2 separate regions of the Homo sapiens genome follow, and region 2 is linked to region 1. Evidence: promoter capture Hi-C in 16 types of primary human blood cells and fetal thymus (Javierre and others, 2016). All regions are on one chromosome and are shown on one strand. The core of a region is centred on a gene start or on the middle of the fragment in contact, and the rest is flanking DNA. Distances in the headings are between cores, read along the strand shown.

Region 1 (7,675 bases), core at 2,854-5,353:
TCAGTGCACCCACACTGACCATATGTTTTTGATCAGGCATCCAGCCCAGACAAAGTTGAGCTCTGCGACTTTAACACCAAAAGAGTGCTCACTTCTATGAGGCTGAAGTGGATCCCGGAGACGGACCTCTCCAGTCTTGACGAGTGAGTAACATACTAATCCAAAGGGAAGACCAAATCCCCAAAGTCCAAATTTCACCACCTCCTGACTATCGATCACATTCCTTCTCTCTAGAAATGTGAAAATCATCTACCAACCTACTTATTAAAACAAGTCTAACTGCCTTAACTTCAGGATTATAGATTTGCTGATGAAATTGTTATAAATGCTCTCAAAGTTCTATTACCATCTAATTACAATTTATGCACAGCTATATAATAATGTGTGTTTTGGAAGCTGAAATAATATGTGTTTTGGAAGCCAAAAAAATTAAGCTTCAATTACTTTTGTACCTACCATGACAACAGGCAGAAACAGGACAATTTTGTATAAAGAATGTTTTTTTACATTTTTGTCCTTTTTTTTTTTGGTGTTTTCTCACAGTTCCTGTCAAGGTGAGAGGAACCAGGCAAAATGCAGGCTTAACATATACGGTCATCCCCAGGTTTTTTTTAACTATATAAAGGAGAAATTAATAAAAGAAAAAAAGAAATACCACACAGCATTTTCTTTCCCCACCATAATTTTTCAATTTTCTTTAGAGAAATGCCAGCCAATAACTAATTAGAACCATACCCTTTGTTATCCCAATGGGAAGAAGTATACGCATGGGCTTAAAGAACAAATGTTAATGAGAATTTAAAAAAAATTAGCAATCTGGAACTCTGGTTTCCCTTCAGTGTAAAACAAAATTCCCTTCTCTAGAGTTATTTTTATCATTGGCGAAATGACACGGATAGAGTCCATCCACAAGACGTGTTCACCCATCCAGTGCCCTCAGCTGGGAGAACTCCGGCTCTTCACTTGTTCTGATGGGGAAATTAGCATCATTAGCTCACGGGCTTCTAAGCACCCTAACTTCAAATGAGACAAAAACTCAGTTACAGAAAAGGCATTTGTTCCACATCTCTTTGGTTTCAAGGGGGAAAATAATTCCTTTTTTTTTTTTTTTGAGACAGAGTTTCGCTCTTGTTGCCCAGACTGGGGTGCAATGGTGCGATCTCGGCTCACCGCAACCTCCGCCTCCCAGGTTCAAGCGATTCTCCTGCCTCAGCCTCCCTAGTAGCTGGGACTAGAGGCATGCGCCACCAGGTCTGGCTAATTTTGTATTTTTAGTAGAGACGGGGTTTCTCCATGTTGGTCAGGCTGGTCTGGAACTCCCGACCTCAGGTGATCCGCCCACCTCAGCCTTCCAAAGTGCTGGGATAACAGGCATGAGCCACCGCACCCGGCAATAATTCCTTTTAAAATCAGCACGTAGCTTTTGTAATTTCCAAGAGTATGTGTTCCATAAGAAGGACAGCTGGAGTCTTTTTACCTGGTATATATCCCCGAGAAAGATCTTGAGTGGTTTGTTCACGACCAAGGAAAGAAACTACCTCCTTGAAAACTGGACTGGTTTTAGAGAATAAAGTATAGGATGTGAGTCAGAAAAACTCTGGGCCAAAAAATAAAATGTTTAAGATGCTAACGCACCAGGGTTTGGGCACGTCCAGCACTCTCAACGGTATTTTCAAATGAGAGTCTGCCCTGTGTCATCCAGGTTCTCATCATGGAGGAATCAGCAGGTCCAGGCTAGGGCCGCAGAATACTTTTTGTCATGCAAAGAGCCTGTCCAGGGTATAGAGAGCCAGCCATGGCCCATGTCCTATCAAATATTCTCCTTTTTCGGAAAAAGCTCTAAGCATTTGCAAAACATCTGTTTGCTCCATATTTTTACTATCCAAAAAATGTATTTCCTCTTCAGTAAAAAACACAACAATAGGCTGTTAAGCCTGTAACATTTTACCATAATTCTATGTTTTCAAAAGCTAGAAATCATTTGTATTGCCGGATAAGGACATTATTTTAAGTAGACTTTAGTCTACAACAGAAACTTGCCGTAACAATGAAAATGTTTTTTGGCAAATCCCTTTCTGAACATTATTTCTCCACGAACGTATCACAAAAACCACCACCAAGGAAAACAAAGGATTCTCGTATTTTGAATCAAAAAGTACTGGCCATGCATATTCATACTATATCAAGCATGTCAATCAAAATGGGCAAAATAACCTAAAAAGCAGTAAAAATGCCAACTCTTGCCTCTGAGTGGTTAGTGAACCTATGTTTTCCCAATATGAAATTTACAAACTGCATCGGATCAACTGTATTTCATACTTTAAATCTCGAATCTCTACCTCCCACTGCTTCGGGATGGATGATTTACTCAAGACATTTGGGGTCACAGTGTAAGCCTTTTGCTCCCAGTAAATCTAAATCATGCTTCTCAACAAGATTCTGCACATATAAAAGGAACACGTGGCACGCCTCGCCATGCTCCCCAGAGGAAACTAAACGCCCCCAGAATAGCCCTTCTGTCCACTCCAGAAACAGGCTTTCCTCAAAAAGGGAAAGGGGCTGGATTCACACGTTGCATCATATACACTCACGAAGCAACAGCGCTCCAAAACTTTTTCTGACTCCATTCATTACAAAATGTCCTGGATGTGCTTTATTATCACAGAGACAGACATCCTCACCCAAGGGACACACTCAGAAACCCAAACTCAACTCGGCAGCAAACTGGGAGACACGAGAAGTTGACAGCAAAGTATCCATTTCCCCAAATCCTCCTTCTTCCAGTCAATGTGCATCGATGGGGTCAGCTCAGCCCTTAACTCGAAGACCCCGGGACCACAGGGGCCACCACGCAGCTGAGCTCTGCACAGCCCGGGCTGTTCCCGCGCCCGGGAGGCGTCTGGGGAGGAGGCTGGACGGCCAGACAATGCAAAGCTCCCCGGTGGCCGCGAACTCAGCCTGGGGCGGGGGAGGCGGGGGCGGGAGACGGAGCCGTGAGCGCCCTTCTCGGCCACAGCCACGGCCACGGTCACCGGCCGCCTCTCCTGACCTCGGCCTCGGCCCCCAGGTCCCCGGTCCCCGGGGAAGGGGCTCCGGGAAGGCAGGTTTCTCCCGGAAAGAAAGGAAACGCGCTGGTTTGGGCGCCACGGGCGGGGGGCGTGCGCCCTCCCCTCCCCTCCCCTCCCCACTGTGGGAATCCGCGGGGGTCGGCGGCGGAGGCAGGAAGGGCCTGGCGCCTCTGCTCGCGGGTGAAGGGGTCGCGGAACCGGGATCCCCGAGCGCAGCCGCCCCCACCCGAGGCTCCCAGCGTGTGCGGACGGAGGGGCTCGAGCCGGGATCCCGGGGGCCGAGGGGGGTCCAACTTTCCAGGGCGGGCGCAGCGCAGCACTCGAACCAAAGAGGGGTCCTGGGATGAGGGTGCGGGCACAGCGCGGAAGGGGGGGGGGCAGAGGCGGGGACGGCGGGGTGGGGGGCGGGGAGAGGACAGTGGGTCGGGGGGCGGGGGACTGGGGGCAGGGGTCGGGGGGTGGAGGGCGGGCAGGGGGACAACGGGGTTGGCGGAGGGCAGGGGTAACGGGCGTGGGGGGCGGGCAGGGGTAACGGGCGTGGGGGGCGGGCAGGGGCCGGCGAGGCCCGCGCCGCTCACCTTCCTGTGCTTCTCCTTGTAGGGCAGCGCCAGCCACGGCATGTCCCGCACGAAGTCCTGCCACTGCCGCTGGTCCTGGTCCGAGGACACGAAGACGATCTCCAGGCGCCGCCGCGGCTCGGGCTCCGCCGCCGCCCCGGCCCCCGCTCCCGGCCCCGGCCCGGCCGCCGCGTCCCCCCGCAGGCGCCCGTAGAAGGCGGCCAGGCTGGCGCTGAGCTGCGCGCAGGGGGCGCTGAGGCTGCAGCCGAAGTAGAGACCCAGCAGCGAGATGCCGCGGGCGCCCAGCGAGTGCACGTCCACCTCCTCGCCGCCGCCCGTCACCAGCTTCTCGCCGAGCAGCTCCTCCAGGAAGCCCGACATCCTGGCCCACCGCAGGGCGGGCAGGCGGCTGCGACCCCGCTCCACGGTCCGCGCGGCGGGAGGAGGCGGCGGCGTCGGCGGCAGGCGCTGGGGAGAGCAGAGCCCGGCCCAGTAGGGCCGCCCACGCCACGCCCCCTCCGCCTGCCCGCGCCACGCCCCTTCCCCCGCCCTGCCACGCCCCCTCCGCGGCCCGCGCCACGCCCCTTCGGCTGCCCTCGCCACGCCCCTCCGCCCGCCCTCGCCACGCCCCCTCCGCCCTCGCCACGCCCCGTTTGCGGCCGGCGGTGGCCAGAGCTCTCCGCCCAGGCGGGGTCCGCAGCTGCCGGCCGCGGTGCGCGGGGTGACTGCTTGGGCGAGAAGCCGGACCCGAAACGCCGCACTCTCCCTGGAAAGCCCACGGCCGAAGTGAAGAAAGGAGAAGGGCCCGCTGAGCCGGCGCTTTCCCGGGCTGCAGCCCGGCCCGCATTTTCTCTCCTCCCCAGTTCTAAATTCCCTCCAGACCTCCAGGGATCCCGCCCCCTCCCCGCGGAGCTCTTCACCCTCTTCCTGTTCCTCCCCGGCCTTTCCCTCCTCCTCTCCCTGCACGAAGCCTGACCCTTAGGCCGCTCCGGGCCCCACTGACCCTGAGATGCTTATAGGACCCGCCGTCCTCACTGCATCAGGCCGGGCCTGGCTGGACACTGACTCCTCTGTGTGTTCCAAGCTGTTCTAAGGGGGCCGAGGACGCCCTCGCAGCTTCTGGTGGGGTCTGGTTAGGGTGCCAGGTCTCAGTGTGGGATTTCCGTCCAGGGGTCGCCGGGGCCTCTCCCCCCAGCGAATCTGTCTTCCAGCCCCACAAATGGATGCAAAGGACGCCGCGGGGCCTCCAGACCAATGCTGGCCGCGCTCCTGAATCCGCTCCATCCTCATGTCAAGTCTATGGATAGTTGAGAACATTTCTAGAGATTTTTTTTTTCCTACCAGCTGGCAGGATGCTCCCCAATGCTTAGGGAGAAGCTGGATTAAACAGGTGGTCTGGGCCGGGCGCGGTGGCTCACGCCTGAATTCCCAGCACTTTGGGAGGCCGAGGTGGGTGGATCACAAGGTCAGGAGTTCGAGACCAGCCTGGCCAATATGGTGACACCCCCCCCCCGCCTCTACTAAAAATACAAAAATTAGCGGGGTGTAGTGGCAGGCACCTGTAATCCGAGCAACTCAGGAGGCTGAGGTAGGAGAATGGCGTGAAGCCGGGAGACGGAGGCTGCAGTGAGCCGAGATCGCTCCATTGCACTCCAGCCTGGGCAACAGAGCAAGACTCCGTCTCAAAAAAAACAAAAAAACAGGTGGTCCGTGGCGAGTACTCTGGCCACGCAGCGCCTCCCCCCAACCCAACCCACTGGTGCACGAAGCAGGTGCAGATCCGGGCCCAGCCACAGTAACAGGCCGCCGGTGTGGATCAGCTACTGACGACTCAGCGAAAGCAAAAAAATAAAAGCTGAAAACCCGCCCCTCTCAGAGCTTCCACCGCCGCTTCGGAGGATATTTCCTGTGCATCCATCGCCACCTAATGGAAAGAGTGAAAAATGAGGCCGACCAAACTCCATTTGTGAAAAGACACTGCCGGGACACCAGGCACAATGCTTTTATTTTACAGCAGCTTTCCACATACACAAATGATAGGACGCTTTGCGGGAGCTAATTTAAACCTCAGAATAGAACTTCAAGCTTTTGGCACAAAACGTAAGTGTTCACATCGAAGGTTCTCCGTTTTTCTAGGGTAGAATAAGGAATGGTGCAGGGTTCCAGCTTGGTGAAATGTTACCATATAAAACAATTGGGAGAGGTGGAGATGGGAGCGGAAAGTGGACTGGCGTCTCTACAAGTTATATCCACTTCCTTAGTCACCTGCTGGTATTGCTAATGACACAGGTAAGATCTTAGATGGAGGACCGCCTTCGAACACCCTAGAATCCTACTGCAAAGTCGAATTCCACCTTAATTCTCAGGAGACTTTCATGCTGAAAGTCTGTGCCACTGTAGGGACAATATTATAAAACACACACAGAAAGCATCACTTTTTAGTGAAAACTTTATTTATTTATTTATTTATTTATTTATTTATTTTGAGACAGTGTGGGCGGCAGGCCACCCAGGCGCTGAGGCAAGAGACCGAGGACACAAGCCGTTCCAGTGTAATAAAATATAAAATAAGAATAGTTATACCAGATATAGATCTTAGATAGGCTTATATATGAATATCATTAATCATTAGTTTGTAGCAATTACTCTTTATTCCCATATTATAATGATCCTCGCTCTATAATCATAATCTAGGGAAAACCAGGCCATACAGAGATAGGAGCTGAGGGGACATAGTGAGGAGTGACCAGAAGACAAGAGTGCGAGCCTTCTGTTATGCCCAGACAGGGCTACCAGAGGGCTCCTTGGTCTAGCGGTAACACCAGCGTCTGGGAAGACACCCGTGGCCAGGCGGACTGTGGTGTAGCGGTAGCGTAAGTGTCAAGGAAAAACACCCGCTACTTAGCAGACCGGGAAAGGGAGTCTCCCTTTCCCCGGGGGGAGTTTAGAGAAGACTCTACTCCTCCACCTCTTGTGGAGGGCCTGACTGCAGGTTCGCCCACAATTATCCGGAGGCCTAACTGTCTCCCTGTGATGCTGTGCTTCAGTGGTCACGCTCCTAGTCCGCCTTCATGTTCCATTCTGTACACCTGGCTCTGCCTTCTAGATAGCAGTAGCAAATTAGTGAAAGTACTAAAAGTCTCTAATAATGGTGGAAGCTGTTTCTCTCTTTGTCTCCTCTCTCTCTCTGCCTCGGCTGCCAGGCAGGGAAGGGCCCCCTGTCCAGTGGACACGTGACCCACATGACCTTACCTATCATTGGAGATGGCTCACTCTCCTTATCCTGCCCCTTTGTCTTGTATCCAATAAATATCAGTGCAGCCTGGCATTTGGGACCACTACCGGTCTCCGCGACTTGGTGGTAGTGGTTCCCCAGGCCCAGCTGCCTTTTATCTCTTTGTCTTGTGTCTTTATTTCTACACTCTCTCGTCTCCGCACACGGGGAGAGACCCACTGACCCTGTGGGGCTGGTCCCTACAGACAGAGTCTCACTCTGTTGCCCAGGCTGGAGTGCAGTGGTGCGATCTCAGCTCCTGCAACCTCTGCCTACCAGATTCAAGTGATTCTCCTGCCTCAGCCTCTCGAGTAGCTGGGATTACAGGCATGCACCACCTCCCAAATAGCTGGGATTACTGGCATGCACTAATTTTTTTGTTTTGTTTTGTTTGTTTGTTTTTTGCAACAGAGTCTTGCTCTGTTGCCCAAGCTGGAGTGCAGTGGCGCGATCTCGGCTCACTGCAAGCTCCGCCCCTCCAGGTTTAAGCAATTCTCTGCCTCAGCCTCTGGAGTAGCTGGGATTACAGGCGTCCGCCACCAAGCCTGGCCAATTTTTTGTATCTTTAATAGAGACGGGGTTTTCACCATACTGGCCAGGCTGGTCTCAAACTCCTGGCCTCAAGTGATCCACCCGCCTCAGCCTCCCAAAGTTCTGGGATTACAGGCATGAGCCACCACCCGGCCTTGGTGAAAACATTTAAAGCTACTCATATCATATATATTAAGTTACTAGGCCAGGTGAGGTGGCTCACACCTGTAATCCCAATACTTTGG
Region 2 (7,675 bases), core at 2,565-5,064, 75 kb after region 1:
AGGTAACAAGGCAGTGGAGGGCTGGGGCGGGAGGGCAGGGCCGGGGGCTTTCCCCGGCATTTCCATCTTCCACCCTGGCCTTCAGGCTGAAAATCTACCTTGGGACCCAACTGCTGAGGCCACAGCACCGGCACGGACCCCAGGCCCTCTGCAAACCCACACCCGCCCTGGGCTCGGACCCCAGCAGTCCTCCCACCTCCAGGGAGATGCCGAGGTTGTTCCCAGGGTACCAGAGGTGGTGTGGGAGGTGCCTTTGGGACACTATGGCCAACCCTCTGCAGCGTGAAACAACGTCAGAGGTCACAGTGCGGGCATACAGTGCAGGTGGCTTACTCCACTTAGCCCCTGCAGCTGCCCAGCTGGGCCATTCTCCATCAGAACAGCTTTCCTGGCCGGGCAAGGTGGCTCACGCCTGTAAATCCCAGCACTTTGGGAGGCCAAGGTGGGCAGATCACCTGAGGTCAGGAGTTTGAGACCAGCCTGACCAACATGGTGAAACCCCATCTCTACTAAAAATACAAAAGTGAGCCCGGCGTGGTGGCACATGCCTGTAGTCCCAGCTACTCGGGAGGCTGAGGCAGGACAATCGCTTGAACCTGGGGTGTGGAAGTTGCAGTGAGCTGAGATGGCACCACTGCACTCCAGCCTGGGCGACCAAGTGACTCTTTCTCAAAAAAAAAAAAACCAAAAAAACCAGCTTTCCTGCAGAAAGGACAGTGCAGCTACCCCAAGAAGCCTCCAGCTGGAGCAACAGAAAGAAGACCCAGGTGGGCCTCAGAACACACAGAACGGGGCTGGGGATTTGCAGGTGAACAACACAGAGGCCCTGAGCACCCCAGCCTGGGCCAGACCAGGGAGTGGGCCTGTGTGTTTGAGACGGGCCATGAAGTGCTGTCATCATGGATTGATCTCGGTGTGAGCCCCTCCTCGAGGGGCTGGGGAGGGCTCACAGGGTCAGAGGGAGGGTTCCGGAAGGGGCTGGGGGAGGGCTCACAGGGTCAGAGGGAGGGTTCCGGAAGGGGCTGGGGGAGGGTTCACAGGGTCAGAGGGAGGGTTCCGGAAGGGGCTGGGGGAGGGCTCACAGGGTCAGAGGGAGGGTTCCGGAAGGGGCTGGGGGAGGGTTCACAGGGTCAGAGGGAGGGTGCCGGAAGGGGCTGGGGGAGGGGTCACAGGGTCAGAGGGAGGGTTCCGGAAGGGGCTGGGGGAGGGGTCACAGGGTCAGAGGGAGGGTTCCGGAAGGGGCTGGGGGAGGGGTCACAGGGTCAGAGGGAGGGTTCCGGAAGGGGCTGGGGGAGGGTTCACAGGGTCAGAGGGAGGGTTCCGGAAGGGGCTGGGGGACGGCTCACAGGGTCAGAGGGAGGGTTCCGGAAGGGGCTGGGGGAGGGTTCACAGGGTCAGAGGGAGGGTTCCGGAAGGGGCTGGGGGAGGGTTCACAGGGTCAGAGGGAGGGTTCCGGAAGGGGCTGGGGGAGGGGTCACAGGGTCAGAGGGAGGGTTCAGGAAGGGGCTGGGGGAGGGCTCACAGGGTCAGAGGGAGGGTTCCGGAAGGGGCTGGGGGAGGGGTCACAGGGTCAGAGCGAGGGTTCCGGAAGGGGCTGGGGGAGGGCTCACAGGGTCAGAGGGAGGGTTCCGGAAGGGGCTGGGGGAGGGTTCACAGGGTCAGAGGGAGGGTTCCGGAAGGGGCTGGGGGAGGGGTCACAGGGTCAGAGGGAGGGTTCCGGAAGGGGCTGGGGGAGGGGTCACAGGGTCAGAGGGAGGGTTCCGGAAGGGGCTGGGGGAGGGGTCACAGGGTCAGAGGGAGGGTTCCGGAAGGGGCTGGGGGAGGGCTCACAGGGTCAGAGGGAGGGTTCCGGAAGGGGCTGGGGGAGGGTTCACAGGGTCAGAGGGAGGGTTCCGGAAGGGGCTGGGGGAGGGTTCACAGGGTCAGAGGGAGGGTTCGAGAAGGGGCTGGGGGAGGGCTCACAGGGTCAGAGGGAGGGTTCCGGAACGGGCTGGGGGAGGGTTCACAGGGTCAGAGGGAGGGTTCCGGAAGGAGCTGGGGACGGCTCACAGGGTCAGAGCGAGGGTTCCGGAGTCAGACCATCTGGGTCCACACCCCAGCTCTGCACAGATCACCTCCCTTCTCTCCCCAGGTTCCTGTCTGCACAGCAGGAAAAGTCATGGTGCCTACACCCTGGGCCTGCCTGTCCAGAGGTCCTGAGTTTACCACGGCTGAAGACACAGGGCCTCACCTCTGAGTGAGAACAGACATATGAGTGGGTCAGGGGTGGCGGCGGCGAAGGGAGTGAGGATAATCTGGGGGTAAAGAGAGATTTTGGAGCAGCTCAGCCGGCTCTGACACCCGCCCAGGCTGGGAGGCCACGGGTCGGCTCCCTGAGGCGAGGACCTCCCGGCCAACGGGAAGCAGGAGAGGGAGGGGCGGCATCTGGGGACATGGAGTGGTGGCGCCTGGTCCAGACATGGGTGGGACAGTGCTTCAGAGCTCACTAGCCAGAAGCTCCTCAGCGGCAGCCCCCAAGAAGGGAGGTCTGTGGGTCTGGAGAGAGTTCAGGAAGCTTCCACGGTAACAAGCAGCCTGAGGGACCGTGTGGTGTTCCCGGCCAGACATCGAGAAGTGCCCAAAAGGTTAGAGCTCCGGCTCTGGTGCCGGAAGACGTGGATTCTGCTGCACCACCTGCTACTGTGTGACTCCAGGAAGGAACCTTGAGCCCCTCCGAGCCTCGGCGTCCTCGTGTGTAAAACAGGGATGGTTTCCGTGACCTCGGCGGGATGCCGGAGGCTCAGAGCGGACCGTGAGACTGAGAGGCTCTGAACACGCCACAGGCTTTGCACATGTGAGTACGTCCACACGCCAGCCATGTTCTCACCTTCTCCAGGTGCACGGTAGGTGCTGTGTAAATTAACGACTTCATTCCACATTTCTGAGCTCCCATGCATCCCAGGGTAAAGGAGACCTGGTTCCCGCCCTCAGAGAACTCACAGTGGGAGACGCAAATTGTTAAGTGACAAAACAGCATGACAGGTGCCATAACCAGCTTGCCCTGAGCAGGATGGGGGCACAAGGAACCTCAGGGGATGGGGGCACAAGGAACCTCAAAGGGATGGGGATACAAGGAACCTCAGGGGATGGGGGCACAAAGAACCTGAGGGGACGGGGGCACAAAGAACCTGAGGGGATGGGGGCACAAGGAACCTGAGGGGATGGGGGCACAAGGAACCTCAGGGGATGTGGGCACAAGGAACCTCAGGGGATGGGGGCACAAGGAACCTGAGGGGATGGGGGCACAAGGAACCTCAGGGGATGGGGGCACAAGGAACCTGAGGGGATGGGGGCACAAGGAACCTGAGGGGATGTGGGCACAAAGAAGGGACAAAGAAGGGAGGCCAGTTTGCCCCCAGGAACTCAGGGAGGCTTCCTGGGAAAGGCTGCTCTAACGGCCCGGGGAGTCACCTCTGTGTGGGGCGCTGCAGGGAGGGGTGAGGGCAGACCCCACCTGCCAGTGAAGAGCAGGGAGTGGGAGGGGCAGGTGGAGAGGGAGAGAGTCAGGGTTTCTGATCCTCTGTGATGTTAAGTCTTTTCTCCTCTCTGTGACTCGGTTACCTCCTCTGGCAAATGGGTAGAAACTATTAGCTGTCTAACTGACTCACAGATTCCCGTGTGGATAACAGGTAGATAAAAAGCGCAACCAGGCCGGGCGCAGCAGCTCACGCCTGTAATCTCAGCACTTTGGGAGGCTGAGGTGGGAGGATGGCTTGAGCCCAGGAGTTCAAGACCAGCCTGGCCAACATGGGGAGAACCTGTCTCTAAAAAAAAATTTTTTAAAAATTAAAAAGTGCAATCCTACTTTGTGAGACACTAAAAACAGATTTAGTATGAGGAACCCACAAGGGGGAAGGGGAGAAAAAGCGATGAGCGTGGCAGCACACCAGCGTTGCACACACACGATCATATCCCAGCCTGCTCTCGGGTCAAAATTCACAAGCGTGACTGCCTTTTAGTGGAGGCCCAGAGAGGTTAAGAAACTTGCCCAAGGTCACACAGCTTGTCATGGGCAGATATGAAGTTGGAGTCCACGTGTTTGTCGCCCTCAGATATGAAGTTGGAGTCCACGTGTTTGTCGCACTCGGTTTCTTTTTTTTTTTTTTGAGACGGATTCTCGCTCTGTCGCCCAGGGTGGAGTGCAATGCCATGATCTCAGCTCACAGCAACCTCCGCCTCCCGGGTTCAAGGGATTCTCTGGCCTCAGCCTCCCAAGTAGCTGGGACTACAGGCGTCCACCGCCATGCCCACGCTAATTTTAGTATTTTTAGTAGAGACGGGGTTTCACCATGTTGGCCCGGATGGTCTCGAACTCCTGACCTCGTGATCCGCCCGCCTGGGCCTCCCAAAGTGCTGGGATTACAGGGGTGAGCCACCGCGCCCGGCCCCTAGGTTTCAGACAGCTTCAGGGAGGGCTTGAGAAAGAGGACTTTGGAGACAAAGGCCAGGGGTGACCTCCCTGCCAAGAGGAGCTGGTTTCTGGCCTCCAGGGGAATGCCCCATGTCTAAAGGCGTGCTGGCAGGGCCCCATCCTGGGCAGAGCAGTGCAGAATCCACAATGGCCCACCCAACCTCGTCCTGGCCAGGGCACTTACTGGCTGATTGCTTAAATCCCTTGGCAGAGTGGACGATGACATGAAGGAAGCCATAGAGTCCTGGAGACTCATCGTCTGCAAGAGAGAAAAGCCCCCAGGGCAGAGGGTGGTCAGCGGATCCCCTCAGCCTCCACCCCAGGCCGGCGGGAGGCAGACGGGGTATGAGACTCAGCTGAGTCTTGGTCCAACATCACCACCTGGTGGCCAGATGAAAAAGTTTCCGAAGGCCACGGCGGCCTTATATGTGAGCTGCCCGGGGTAGGGCTAGGGGGTCCTTCTCTCCTCCACTCAGCCTGGGGGGGTCCAGCACACCCACCATCCTGGCCCAGGGACTTAGTACCATTCCCCATGGGTACTGTCTCTCCCTCCAAATCCTGCCTATCCTGGCACTGAAAACTGACCAATATGATAAATCATTCTGCTAATGATTTATGTCGAGGAAAGCTTGCCTTCAGGACCCCGTTCACAAAGTGGACCCTTTCCCAGCACACAGGCAGCTAGAATACACCCACTCCGGTCAGTTCCCAGCCCTGATCACAGCTCCCCACTGCTCAAAACCCCCCCAGACTCCCGGGCTTACAGCATGAATTCCAAACTCCCTTGCTTGGGATTCAAGGCCTTTCAAGAGCTGGTCCCTGGAAACTTCCAGCCTCATTTCCCATACACCATTTTATCTACCGGGTCTGCTCTCTCATGAATATATTAACAGCACAATCTCAGTGCACCAGGGTGCCAGTTCTCCCAAGCCAGACAGAGGGGCCCAAGGAAAAGCTGGGGTCATCTGGGAACTCAGTAGACAGTCACCCCTACCCAAGCTGTGTCCTGGCCACTCAACAGTCTCAGCACAGCCGAGCAGGGATCAGCCATTTACAGCCACATGTCTGTCTGAGTCCTTACGGGAAGCCGGCCACGCTCTGAGGGCTGGGACCTGCCGGTTGGGCCACCTCTGGTTCCCGAGCTTACCGTCTTTATTGCTGGTGACAGGAATGTTGTGTACAGTCCTAAGCTTGAAACAGGATCCTGTGAGCACCTGGAGCTCCACTGAGCTCAGGACAAAGGCCTGGAGATCTGGAGGGAGAGCCGAGAGAGAAGGGAGCGTGGGCACTGGTCCACCAGGACCGGCTGCTCTTCCCTGGGGGCTGCTGCAGGAAGACGGCTTAATCCCTGGGGCAGACTTGGTCCTTGCGAGGGAGGGGGAAGGATTTGTGGACACAGCAGGACTGGTGTAGATGCTGCGAGAGGGGTCAGAGTAGGAGAATCTAACTGAAGAGGTTTGTGTGTGTGTGTGTGTGTGTGTGTGTGTGTGTGTGTGTGTGTGTGTGTGTGTGTGTGGTGTATGCGTTTTGTTTTCGTTTTTTTTTTAAACGGAGTCTCACTCTGTCGCCCAGGCTGGAGTGCAGTGCTGTGATCTCAGCTCACTGCAACCTCCGCCTCTCAGGTTCAAGGGATTCTCCTGCTTCAGCCTCCTGAGTAGCTGGGATTACAGGTGCCCACCACCACACCTGGCTAATTTTTGTGTTTTTAGTAGAGACGGGGTTTCACCACGTTGCCCAGGCTGATCTCAAACTCCTGACTGGGATTACAGGCGTAAGCCACCGTACCCAGCCTCTGTGTATGTGTGTATGTGTGTGTGTGTGTGTGTGTGTGTGTCTCTGTGTGTGTGTGTGTGAGAGAGAGAGAGAGGTAGAGAGAGAGAGAAAGCCCAGGCTGGGCTCTGGGTCCAGTCCCAGGACTAAATCATCATGTCTTTCAGCCAATCAGTTAGATTCTTTGGGTCTCAATTAATCCGTAACATCCTTAAACGCTCACCCTGGCACCTCTGAGGGTGACTGCGAGGGCCAAAGACGTGATACTGGACATGAAACGCTTAGAAATACAAAAGGCCCATCAATGCCACGGACATCATTGGGGAGCGTGGAAGAGGCAGGAATTTACCCTTCTTCTGTAGTTTCTGAATTGCTTCTCTCCACTCTGACCTCTCGTAGTCCGAGGACAGTAGGAACAGGTAACTCTGAAGAGAGGAGATAAGCATAAAGTGGGTGACCACAGTCAGGCAAAGCGTACTCCCAGATCCTGGGGACCCCAACAAAGCTCCTTTTATCTTTTTTTTTTTTTTTTTTTTGAGACAGAGTCTCGCTCTTGTTGCCCAGGCTCTAGTGCAATGGCAAAATCTCGGCTCACTGCAACCTCCACCTCCCGGGTTCACGCCAATCTCCTGCCTCAGCCTCCTGAGTAGCTGGGATTACAGGTGCCCACCACCACGCCCGGCTAATTTTTGTGTTTTTAGTAGAGACAGAGTTTTGCCATGTTGGCCAGGCTGGTCTCAAACTCTTGACCTCAGGTGATTCGCCTGCCTCAGCCTCCCAAAGTGCTGGGATGACAGGCATGAGCCACTGTGCCCGGCCCAAAGCTCCTCCTTATCCAGGCACAGCTGACCTTGCAGGAGGAGGCAGCTGGGGGTGGGTGGGTGAAGGGGGAGCTCCTTCCTGGGAAGCCAAGGTGACAGGAGCGGCTGTGCCAGGGACGGCCAGCAGAGGGCACTCATTCCACACGAGAGGGGAGAGCGAGTCAACAGCTGGAGCCATGGCAGCCTCCTCAGGAAGAGGGGGCCTGAGTTTCCGGTTCGTACAGGTCAGGGCCAGGAGCCACAGAGTGGGCTGCTCTGGACTAAGGAAGGGGCTGTCTTGGTCCCACCCCCACCCATCCTGACCTTTCCATTCCGATTGTGGATCCTGAACGGGATTGTGGGGGAGTTGAGCAGCAGCAGGAACTCATTCTCAAACATCTTCTTCTTCAGGCGCTCGATGGCCCGGCTCTGGCCTTTGTTGGCTTTCTGCAGGAGATGGGGACACAGAGGGTTCCCCTCACACTCGGGCCTTTCTCACGAGCAGCACTAAGCACGACACTCCACTGTGTGTTAACATGCTCTTTACATTTTCCGTATTTCGTGATGTTTTGACATCTTGTGGCAGGAGAGGCGGGTAGCTGGGTGAGAAACTGCTCCCCCACAGGGCTCACTAATTCCTAAGCCTGTCAGTGAT

Evidence for each region. The method cuts DNA at HindIII sites, captures the fragments that hold promoters and counts their contacts. A CHiCAGO score of 5 or more calls a contact.
Region 2: a contact is called between a fragment that was not itself captured here and the fragment with the promoter of NXN in region 1, in 2 of 17 cell types (megakaryocytes and endothelial precursors). The highest score is 9.3, in megakaryocytes.

The regions. Positions count from the first base shown.
Region 1 is chr17:975,673-983,347 of GRCh38, forward strand. NXN (nucleoredoxin) reads right to left here and starts at 4,104. Exons shown (of 8, transcript NM_022463.5): 1 at 3,647-4,104. The coding sequence starts at 4,006. RefSeq lists enhancers at 3,017-3,952, 5,377-5,671. The HindIII fragment of the contact is 5,276 bases long and covers 433-5,708 here.
Region 2 is chr17:1,051,401-1,059,075 of GRCh38, forward strand. ABR (ABR activator of RhoGEF and GTPase) reads right to left here. Exons shown (of 23, transcript NM_021962.5): 11 at 7,345-7,467; 12 at 6,570-6,645; 13 at 5,598-5,702; 14 at 4,635-4,709. Among named protein-coding and RNA genes, the nearest start is that of MIR3183, 33 kb to the left of the region's middle. The HindIII fragment of the contact is 2,524 bases long and covers 2,553-5,076 here.